Linked DNA regions of Homo sapiens: region 2 is linked to region 1. The links are contacts of gene promoters, found by promoter capture Hi-C in blood cells and fetal thymus (Javierre and others, 2016). All regions are on one chromosome and are shown on one strand. The core of a region is centred on a gene start or on the middle of the fragment in contact, and the rest is flanking DNA. Distances in the headings are between cores, read along the strand shown. Region 1 holds the start of SYT5 (synaptotagmin 5). Region 2 holds the start of COX6B2 (cytochrome c oxidase subunit 6B2).

The links. The method cuts DNA at HindIII sites, captures the fragments that hold promoters and counts their contacts. A CHiCAGO score of 5 or more calls a contact.
Region 2: a contact is called between the fragment with the promoter of COX6B2 here and the fragment with the promoter of SYT5 in region 1, in 2 of 17 cell types (total CD8 T cells and naive CD4 T cells). The highest score is 6.0, in total CD8 T cells.

What each region holds. Positions count from the first base shown.
Region 1 is chr19:55,178,370-55,183,280 of GRCh38, forward strand. SYT5 (synaptotagmin 5) reads right to left here and starts at 1,920. Exons shown (of 9, transcript NM_003180.3): 1 at 1,748-1,920; 2 at 594-717. The coding sequence starts at 672. It overlaps PTPRH (protein tyrosine phosphatase receptor type H), which reads right to left. Exons shown (of 20, transcript NM_002842.5): 19 at 3,647-3,782; 20 at 2,878-3,534. The coding sequence ends at 3,385. RefSeq lists an enhancer at 1,386-1,465 and silencers at 1,453-1,865, 1,746-1,935. The HindIII fragment of the contact is 13,685 bases long and covers 1-4,911 here.
Region 2 is chr19:55,351,408-55,356,318 of GRCh38, forward strand. It overlaps COX6B2 (cytochrome c oxidase subunit 6B2), which reads right to left and starts at 3,312. Exons shown (of 5, transcript NM_144613.5): 1 at 3,243-3,312; 2 at 3,003-3,132; 3 at 2,459-2,559; 4 at 2,200-2,367. The coding sequence starts at 3,114. The coding sequence ends at 2,314. It overlaps GARIN5B (golgi associated RAB2 interactor family member 5B), which reads right to left. Exons shown (of 11, transcript NM_001145402.2): 10 at 3,853-3,938; 11 at 3,501-3,688. The coding sequence ends at 3,893. RefSeq lists silencers at 2,627-2,736, 2,847-2,896. The HindIII fragment of the contact is 2,438 bases long and covers 1,078-3,515 here.

The DNA of each region.
Region 1 (4,911 bases), core at 670-3,169:
TGCAGAGGGGTGGAGACAACACACATTGAGGCCTGGGCAGCACGCAGGCTGATTCAGTCCTGATTACACGTGGAAGCTGGAATGCTGGCCTCCTTTTCCCTCCAGCCATTTTCATTGCATTTCTTCCTGTGTTTTTCTTCCACCTAATGTGGCCTATAGAGAGATTCGATGCCCCAACCCAGGCTGACACCATCTGGATTTGCTTGCTTGTTAGTTCTGCCTTTCCTTACCCGACCCCGCCCCCCATTTCTGCTCAACTCCTGATGCTTTTACAAGAAGCCCTGCTCCTCATCGGGCCTGTTTCCTTATCTGTAAAAGAAGAGCTAGGTGGACCTTCCAATTCTAAGATCCCATTCCATGCAACACCCCTTGATCCGGTTTCGATTTTTTTTTTTTTTTTTTTTTTTTTTTTTTTGCAAATCTGTTCCTTCCTTTTACCCCATTTCGTTCGCATTCCAGTCCAGGATGACGACCCGGGATCCCAGCCGGATTTTCCAGCCCGCCTGCCCGAGTACACCCGTCCGAATCCCGCCCCTCGGAATCCTGGCCAGGCTTTCTCTCTGCTCGGCCCCCCACCCCCGGGTCTTGCTCACCTGGGCCGTGGCTGATGCGACTGGAGTCGGGAGGCGTGTCGGGCGATGGAGGCCCCGGGGTTGGGGGCTCCGGGAACATGGTGGCGGGGTCCTGGAGTCTTTTCTGCAGAGACACTCAAGCACCCTAGTCCCCCATTCCCACCCCAGACGTCCTTTGAGCCCCACGCACAACAAAGAACTCCAACTCCCATGAGGCCTTTGCGCGAACAGCCGCGCAGAAACCGGACAGCCACCGCGAGTCATGCTGGGAGTTGTAGTATCAGCCTCCCCGCACTTGAGAGGGGGTGTCCAGGACCTAGTTCCATCCTAAAGGGATACCCTCTTCCTCCACGGCCCCACAGGCATCCCGCTGACTTCTGCCTCGTCCTCGCCCCTCCGCAGGGTCTGAACCGGAAGCGGGCGAAGGCAGACGTGGGAACCAGCAGACCGCGTTGCCCAGAGCAACAGCCGGGCTCCTCTCAAGCGGGGTGAGAGCAAAGCTGGTTGCCCGGGCAACGGGTTGTTGCCAGGACAACGGGCGGGGCTGACGCACAGACGCGGAGTCCCGGCGGGGCAGGCTCGCTCCGGGGCCCACCGGTGCCTGGGAACCCCCCAATAGCCCGACTGGGATCCTGAGGTCCCGCGAGGTGGGGAGCGGGCAGCCTGTGGTCCGAGCGCCCACAGCCGACTGCTCCCTCCGCACCTGGTCCTGGGAGCTGAGACGCAGGTTCCCTCTTCCCTCTCCCCAATTTTGCTGGAGGGCGGGTCGGGGGCTGCCCGGTGCCTGTGCTGAGCCCCCTCATCCTTCTTGGCCTGTTGGTCTCTCCACGCATCCGTGCTGCTCTCGTGACCGCCTCGGTCTCCACGCTGCCTCTTGACCCCACATAGGCGTCTTCCCTGTGTCTGCCTCCCCAACCCGCCTGTCTCTCTTCCCTATCGCCTGGCCTCTGTCTCCAGGGTCTCTCCCTCTCCCCTCCGCCTGCGCCCCACTCCCCGCCCTCGGCTCTTTGTCTTCTCCATACCTGTCTCGCGTCCCCAGATCCCTGTCTCTCCGCTTCAGGCTGCTGCCCTCCCTCTGGTTGTCTCCCCAGTGCCCCAGCCCCCACTCGCACACCCCTTTCCTCTAGGGATGCGGATGCGGATGGGCTGAGGGCGGGGGTCCCAGCAGCTCCTACCTGCTCGGCGGCTGGACGGGACACTCCCGGGAGACGCCGAGGCGCCAGCCCCGCCCGGACCCCACCCCCTGCACGTGGGCGGTGGCGCTGTCCCGGGTGCTGATCGCGGAGCTCTCCGGGGCGGGGGAGCCGCGGAGCGGAGCAGGATCCCGTGCGCGCGTGTGTGCCCGTGTGCGTGTGCGCGCGTGTGTGGTGTGTATTGTGTGTGCCCGTATTTGGTCTCGGGTAGGCGGAAAGCCCTGCCCCGCCCCTCCTCCCGCCTCCACCCGGGAACCTCGATGACGCCCACAGATGTTTATCCTGGTGCTTTAGCATTTTCTGCCTTCTGGTCCAGTCGTTGGCCGTCCAGACCACTCCACTCCTCCCGCCCCAACACACACGACACACACCCTGTATAGCCCAAAGAACGGCATGCCAGGATACTCAGTCCTAGGACCTAGGAGACCCCAGACCCCCATTGGAGACCCAGACTCTGCAGGGTTCAGCATCAAAGTCCCCAGCTATCAGCCCCCAGACATCGCCCTCTAAGTTCCCCTAACACCAGTCCCAGGAGGCGGCCAGTGCGGTGGCTCATACCTGTAACCTCAGCACTTTGGGAGGCCGAAGCAGGAGGAATGCTTGAGCCCAGGAGCTGGAGACCAGCCTGGGCAACATAGCAAAATCCCGTCTCTACAAAAATGAGCCAGCGTGGTGGTGCGCACTTGTGATGGCAGCTACTCTAGAGGCTGAGGTGGGAAGATCACCTGGGCCCAGGAGGTCAAGGCTGCAGTGAGCCACTGCACTCCAGTCTGGGCAACAGAGCAAGACCATGTCTCAAAAACAAAAACAAAAACAGAACAAAACAACAACAACAACAACAGAGAAGAGTAAAAGAAAAGCTCAGAAGGCAAGTCCCCAAGCACCTAGCTCCAGCGAGCCCTGTCCATACTGCCCAGACCCTGGACACAGACGTCTGGACACTGCCTTCTCTGAGAGACTCAACCACCCAAACCTACATTTTTTCATGTGCAAATGTGTGGGTCCCTCTAGTCCCCTCCTGGACGTTCGCCTCGATCCCTAGATACCAGGAACCCATCCCTACTCCCAATCCAATATTATTTCCAGACCCAGAAATCCATGGGACAACTGTCTCTGGGGAGAACAGTGATTTAATAAATTATGGGATAGAAGGAAAAATACATGTGGATGGTGGGGTGCAGAGAGACCTTGGGCACAGGGACTCCCTCCGACCCCAGATTATAGAAGACTGATTTGGTTTCTGAAGTAAAATCAAGGCAGGATCCTTCCTGCCTTTGGTCCTCAAGTAGCCAGAACTCCAGACCCAAATTCCTTCCTGCCTCAGAATCCAGGCCCCAGCCTGTTTCTTTCTGCATCCTGGAAAGACCTAGGGAATCCAAGCTATCATCCCTCTCCTCCTTCAGGGAACCAGGAATCCAGATCCCCAGCTCCCATAGGACTCATCTGAAGCCCACCAGACCACTCTCTCCTGGGGAAACCAGAGTTTGGGATACCAGCCCCCTCCTCCCACAGCACCCAGGAGTCTGGGAGCCCAGCCCTCTGCTCTTCCAGGAATCTGGGCTCAAGTGGGTGTCCAGAGCTTGAGGATGCCTGGGCTGCCGACCCAGCCCCCTCGTCACTTAGACCTCCAACTTGTGGGCCTGGATGGCGGCCACGTTCTCGTAGATGAGGTTTTCGACATCCTCATACGGGACTTCCTTCTCGGCTGGGGCCTGGGCTGACTGTTGGAGGAACCGCAGGATGCACTGATGCAGGAATACGTACTGAGCCTGGGAAGCAGGCACGGGAGTGAGAGGCGTCCCCCCAGGTCTGAGCTGCGTGGAGCCCCAGGGTCCCTCGTCCCACTGCCTCCCGTCCTGTGTTGCTGAGGGACTGCCTCACCTCAGTCTGCACCATCAACGGCCGACTCTCTCTCATCTTCCTTACAAAGCTGAAGGGCCCAAGGAGACCCTCGGACTGCAGCTGCCGGAGCAGGACGTCCAGGGCAATGAGGGTTCCTGTGCGACCCACGCCAGCACTAGGCAGAACAAGGGAAGGGTCAGACCAAGGGGCAGGAGTGTGAGGGTCCGGGGTCATGGCTGATTGGAGGGATCTGTGTTTGAATGATGACAATAACTATGCCTGCTCACACCTGTAATCCCAGCACTTTGGGAGGCTGAGGCCGGTGGATCACCCAAGGTCAGGAGTTCCAGACCAGCCTGGCCAACCTGGCAAAACCGTCTCTTCTAAAAATGCAAAAATTAGCCGGGTATGGTGGCGCATGCCTGTAATCCCAGCTACTTGGGAGGCTGAGGCGAAGAATCGCTTGAACCCAGGAGGTGGAGGTTGCAGTGAGCCAAGATCACACCACTGCACTCCAGCCTGGGCGACAAGAGCAAAACTCCCATCTCAAAAACAACAACAACAACAACAACAAAACTGCCTGGAGTTCCTTCCATCTGTTAGGCTCTGTTCTAAGTGCCTGATGGGCCTTCTTCACTCCTCCCAAACCTAAGAAGTCGGATGTACTAGCTCCATTGTACAAATGGGGAAATGGAGGCTGAGTGAGGTGAAGTCCCATTCCCCAGGCCACTCAGCTAATAAGTGGCAGAGCCGGGGTTCAAATACAGGAAGAGGAACTCTCCAGCCAATCATTTAGTAATTCCTTTAAACACAAAAATTAGTCTTTTGTTTTGTTTGAGACAGGATCTCTCTCTGTCACGAAGGCTGAAGTGCAGTGGCATGATCTCGGCTCACTGCACCCTTGACCTCCTGGGCTCAAGTGATCCTCCTGTCTCAGCCTCCTGAGTAGCTTGGATCACAGGCATGCACCACTGCATCTGACTAACTTATTAACTTTTTAATAGAGACGGGGTCTTGCCATGTTGCCCAGGCTGGTCTCAAACTCCTGGACTCAAGTGATCCTCCCACCTCAGCCCCCCAAAGTGCTGGGATTACAGGCATGAGCTACTGTGCCCAGTGAAAAAATTAGCTATTTTAGGCTGGGCACAGTGGCTCACGCCTGTAATCCCAGCACTTTGGGAGGCTGAGGTGGGTGGATCACGAGGTCAGGAGATTGAGACCATCCTGGCCAATATGGTGAAACCCCGTCTCTACTAAAGTACCAAAAAAAAAAAAAAATTACCCGGGTGTGGTGGCGGGCGCCT
Region 2 (4,911 bases), core at 2,062-4,561, 170 kb after region 1:
AGGCGAAGCTGCGGCCCCTAGGAGCCAGGGGACAGTGAGCAGGGGAGGCAGCGCAGGTGGCCTTCAGGATCCGTGGTCTGGAGGCCGGGAGGACGGAGCAGGTTCTGAGGGAAGAACCGCAGAGGGAGGGGAAAGTGGATGATGGAAGGATTGAAGAGATGGGGCTGGAGGAGGAGAAAGAAGAGGAAAAGGAGTAGAGAAAGAAGGCGGGAGGAGGATGTTGAGCGAACAAGGATGCAGGTGTTCTGGGTGGGGGCAGGAATAAGTAGAGTGGCCTTGGTTTTCTCTGACCTGGGAGGTTGCTGAGACTGTGAGGCTGGCATTAGGGGTCTCAGGAGGCGGCTACTGGACACCAGGGAAAGCCAGCCAGAGCACCTGGAGGAGGTGTTCGGAGTTTGCACAGGTGATGGTCCACCAGGCTGGAGGCCAGGCCGGGCAGGTCTGCCCCTGCCCCTGGCTCAGGCATCAGTGGGGCAGTGGCGGCTGCAGAGGGGGTCGGGAGTGTGAGAATGTGCTGAGATGAGGTCTGGAGGCAGTGAAGATAGGATGATGGGAGGAGGAGGAAGGAGGAAGGCTGGCCAACAGGGCAAAAATGGGTTCTAGACACGGCTCTGGGGAGGTCAGGAGGCTGCTGTGGCTGCACAGGTGTGGCACCCTGTGCTTGGGATGTTACCTGGGTGACCTCACCAACTTAGCTCCATTCTGTGACTCAGAGAGGGGTCCTGCCCCCGTGGTTCTGCCAGCGCCTCTGTGCATTCGTCAAGGCTCTGGGGACGTTGCATGAACAGGAAGCCCTCCTGTAGTTGAGTCCACACCCTGTGCCCTCACCCCATTCTTGGGTTGTGGTCAGAGACGGAGCCAGGAGACCAAGATCTCAGAGGTGGCGTCATCCTGGGGGATGGCTCATCTAGGGTGTGTCCTGGGCAGCATGGAGGGCAGGTGATGGACAGGTCATCATGGGGCAGGGAGCAGGATGGAGTCAGCCCCCTGAGCTCACCCAGCCCTACCTCCTCTGATAATGGGGCCCTGAGCCATCTTGGTTTGCCTTGGGGAACCTCGGGCTCACACAGGTCAAGAAGCTTGTCTAGGGTCACCCTGCAAGTTGTCATGATTAGTTGTAGTCACCTTTGAACCCTGGGGTTGAACAGGGCCTCATAGGACCGCTTCAGTCAGAGGATGGGGCTTCCCCCTCCTAGGAGCCCCTCTGGAAGGCTGATAGCTCAGGGAGTACCCGTTGGGAAAACCAGCACCCCAGGCTGACTGGTCTCACGGCTCCCTCAGCAGGACCAGGCTGGAACCCTAGGGCTTTGTCAAGCGGCACTCCTTGGCCTGGGGAGAGGCAAGACTTCAAAGGGCGTCTGGAACCGGAATGCGGTTCCGTGTTACTGCCGGGATGGGGAAGGAGTAAAGAATGATTCCGAGGGAGCTCTGAGCGTCCTCTGGGTGCTGGCAGTCTGGCGGGGGTCACAGGAGAAATTGCGGCGATGTGTGCGGTGGGAGAGACTGACAGCGGCCTCTGCGGGGTGGGGGTGCGGGGTGAGCCTGATGCATTGGAGAACTGAGCAGGCTGCTACGCCTGGCTGTGGGTGCGGGTGCCGAAAGCGTGGACACCAGGGGATTCTGTTGGAAATAAGCTGGCTCACATGATGGGGATCTCGATGTTCTGGGAGGGGAAATGAGCCAGGTGGGAGCGGGGTCGTGATGGAGAGTGGTGGAGAGCCCAGAGAGTGGGGGAGGAAGGGATGGAGTCAGCGCTGGGTGGTACAAAGAAGACCCCTCAGGACCCGAGATGGGATGGATCAGGGGTGGGATGGGGAAGGAGCCTGGGGAGATGGTCCAGGCAGGAGGGGAGTAGGGAAAGGACTGAGGTGAGAGGTAGGTGTGGTGATTGGAGGCAGGAGCACCTTGGAGCCATCTGGGTGGGACAGTGTTGAGAACTGGGGACCCTGGGCTGGCTCGTAGCTGTCAACGCGAGGCATCTACCTGCTGGAATGGAGAGGGAGAAGGGGGACGGGAGGCATTCGGCTTCCTGTCTTAGGGCCTTGACTGCCTGCTGCTACCTGATGGAGCAGCAGTCCCCCACCTGCCCCTTATCGGAAAAAGCAGCGTTAGCCCGGACACAGGCACACGGAGGATCCCCACCACCACCACGACGCATCGCTGGCTGGGCATTAAGAAGAAACATCAGCAACAGCATACCATTATTCGTGGCTTAGACACTGGGAGGTAGGGGTGGATAACCGAGACCCGGGGCTCCGCGAGACAAAAAGATGCAGGATCACTGCATCTTCAGAGGAAGCCGCGCTGGGGCAGTCAGATTTTGCCGGCGAAAATCCCGTTCTTGATCTGCTCGTTCCAGCTCTCCACCTGGGAAGCAGAAAGGCAGGGAGCGGGACGCCGGCTCAGCCTCGGCCGAGCCCTGCACACGCCTGGCCCGGCGCCCCCTCTGCCGACTCACCCAGCTGATGGGGCACAGCGAGTGGTACACGCGGAAATAGTACTCGCAGGGCTGCGTGCTCTTCCCGCGGCGGGTCCTGGTCTTGAGGCAGCGGTGGTAGTCTGTGGCGGGCGGGGGTCACGCGGCAAGCCACGCCCATTCCAGGACAGGACCCGCCCCTCCACTGCTCGGGCCCTCCCAGTTCTTCGCTGCTTCGTCCCGCCTCCCTCTCCCCTGGAGGCCTCCGTCCCGCCCCTCCCAGCCAGGCCCCGACCCCTACCTCCCTCACACTGCTCCTCCTACCCAGACCCTGCCCCTACCTACCTCGCCCCGCACCTTCACGACTCGGCCCCGCACCTTCCAGATCAGGCCTCGCCCCTACCAACCTCGCCCCGCCCCTCCAGGCTCAGCCCCGCCTTTTCTCGACCAGGCCCCGCCCCCACCAACCCGGCCCCGCCCGGCCTCCCACCCTAACGGTCTCCGCGGGACTTAGGGTGGGAGTGCCCCTCCCTGCCGTCCCTTGTCACACCCTGCTCCTCCCATAACCTGGCTGAGCAGGTCTCACCCAGGAAGTTCTGGTAGCAGTTACGGATCTGGTTCTGGCTGGGGAAGCGCGGGTCGAAGGGCGGCGTCGACCATTTCCCCTTGGGGGGCTCCTGGGCTTCCACATCCAACATCCACGAAGGAGGCAACTCCTGCGAGACGGGACGGGACGGGGACTCCGTGGGGCCGAGGGGGCGCCCTCGCTCCGACCCGTCTCCCCATCCTGACCCCCGCCCCTGAACCCCACCCGTCGTGCCCTCACCAGCCTGACGTTGGCGGCCACTGGATCTGCTGTGGGATGGTCCCGGGGTGCCGCTCGCTTCTGAGTCCGCGGGGTGCGGTCCCACCCGGGTCAGGAGAAACGCACCCCGCGGCCGGATTGGCTAGGACGCCCGAGCCCCAGCCAATGGGAGCCGTCGTGCACCGCGGGGCTGGTAGGGGCGCCCCCACCCCACCCCTTGCTCCCCCGACGCCCCCTCGGGGGCCTGCGCGTGCACACAGGCACCGAGGTGCGACTCGCTGAGTCTCAGGCTCAAGCTTTAATCTCTGCGAAGTTGGGCGGCTCCACGGGCTCGCCCCCGCCCCCCCCCGCCCCCCAATATATAAAGGCATATCCATAGTTCTGGTATCTACCAGAGGGGGCAAATCCCCCCAAGCGGCTTTCAACATTCCGCTTCCTACAGTCGGTGCGCACAGAACCCTCGGGGCCTGTGGGGTTAAGAGGAAAGAGCAGCGGTGGGGTCCGGGCTCCTGGGAACCCCCCCGCCCCCCTCGTCCTCCCCCCTCCGTTACCCGCCCCCCCCACCCTCCTCCCTCGCCCCCCTCCCCCCGCCCCCAGGTCTAAGGCAGATCTCCAGGGTCTTAAAGGGTACCTGGCAGCGCTGGGCTCCTCTGGACAGTTTCCAACTGAGGTTAAGCCCCCGCATCCGGCCACTCGGAGTGCTGGGAGTGCTGCAGGCTGCAGGGAGAAAGCAAGCCAGAGAGAGCTTTGGGGGACAGGGTAGGGAGAGAGGGGTACCCAGGGCTTTAAGAGCTGCAGATGCCTGGCTTAGGAGAGCGTCCCCCAGGGCGGGTCTTGCTGTGTGTTTGGCTCACTGTTGTATCTGCCTGGGGCAGAGTCTGGCAGTAGTAAATGCACAATAAATCCGAGGCGGAATCAATGAGTCTTGGCTCTAGGGGCAGACAAGTAACTGGAATCTGGGCAGGTGGTTTCACCTCTAGATCCCTGCTAAGCTTCTCTCCCTCCTGCCTGGTTAATATCAGGCCTGACTCAGGATTGTTTACACTGACAGCCAAATGTACGAATTAAGAATCCCGGCCAGGTGCGGTGGCTCATGCCTGTAATCCTAGCATTTTGTGGGGCAGAGGCGGGAGGATTGCTTGAGTCCAGGAGTCTGAGACTAGCCTGGACAACATGGTGAAACCCCATCTCTACAAAAAATACCAAAATTAGCCAGGCGTGTTGGTGCGTGCCTGTGGTTCCAGCTACTGAGGAGGCTGAGGCAGGAGAATCACCTGAGCCTGGGTAGCTTGAGGCTGCAGTGAGCTGTGATGGCATCACTGCACTTCAGTCTGGGCAACATGTGAGACCTCTTTTCTACAAAAAAATCAAAAACTTGGCTGGGCTTTTGGAGGCTGAGGCAGGAGGATCACTTGAGCCCAGGAAGATAAAGGCTGCCATGAGCCACGATCACACCGCTGCACTCTAGCCTGGCAATAGAGCTCACCCCTGTAATCCCAGCACTTTGGGAAGCCGGATGGATCACCTGAGGTCAGGAGTTTGAGACTAGCCTGGCCAACATGGCGAAACCCCATCTCTAAAAAAAAAAAAGAAAAGAAAAGAAACAGGGTGTCACTCTATTGCCCAGGCTGCAGTGCAGTGGCACGATGGTGGGTCACTGCAGCCTCGACTTCCCAGTTCAACCAGTCCT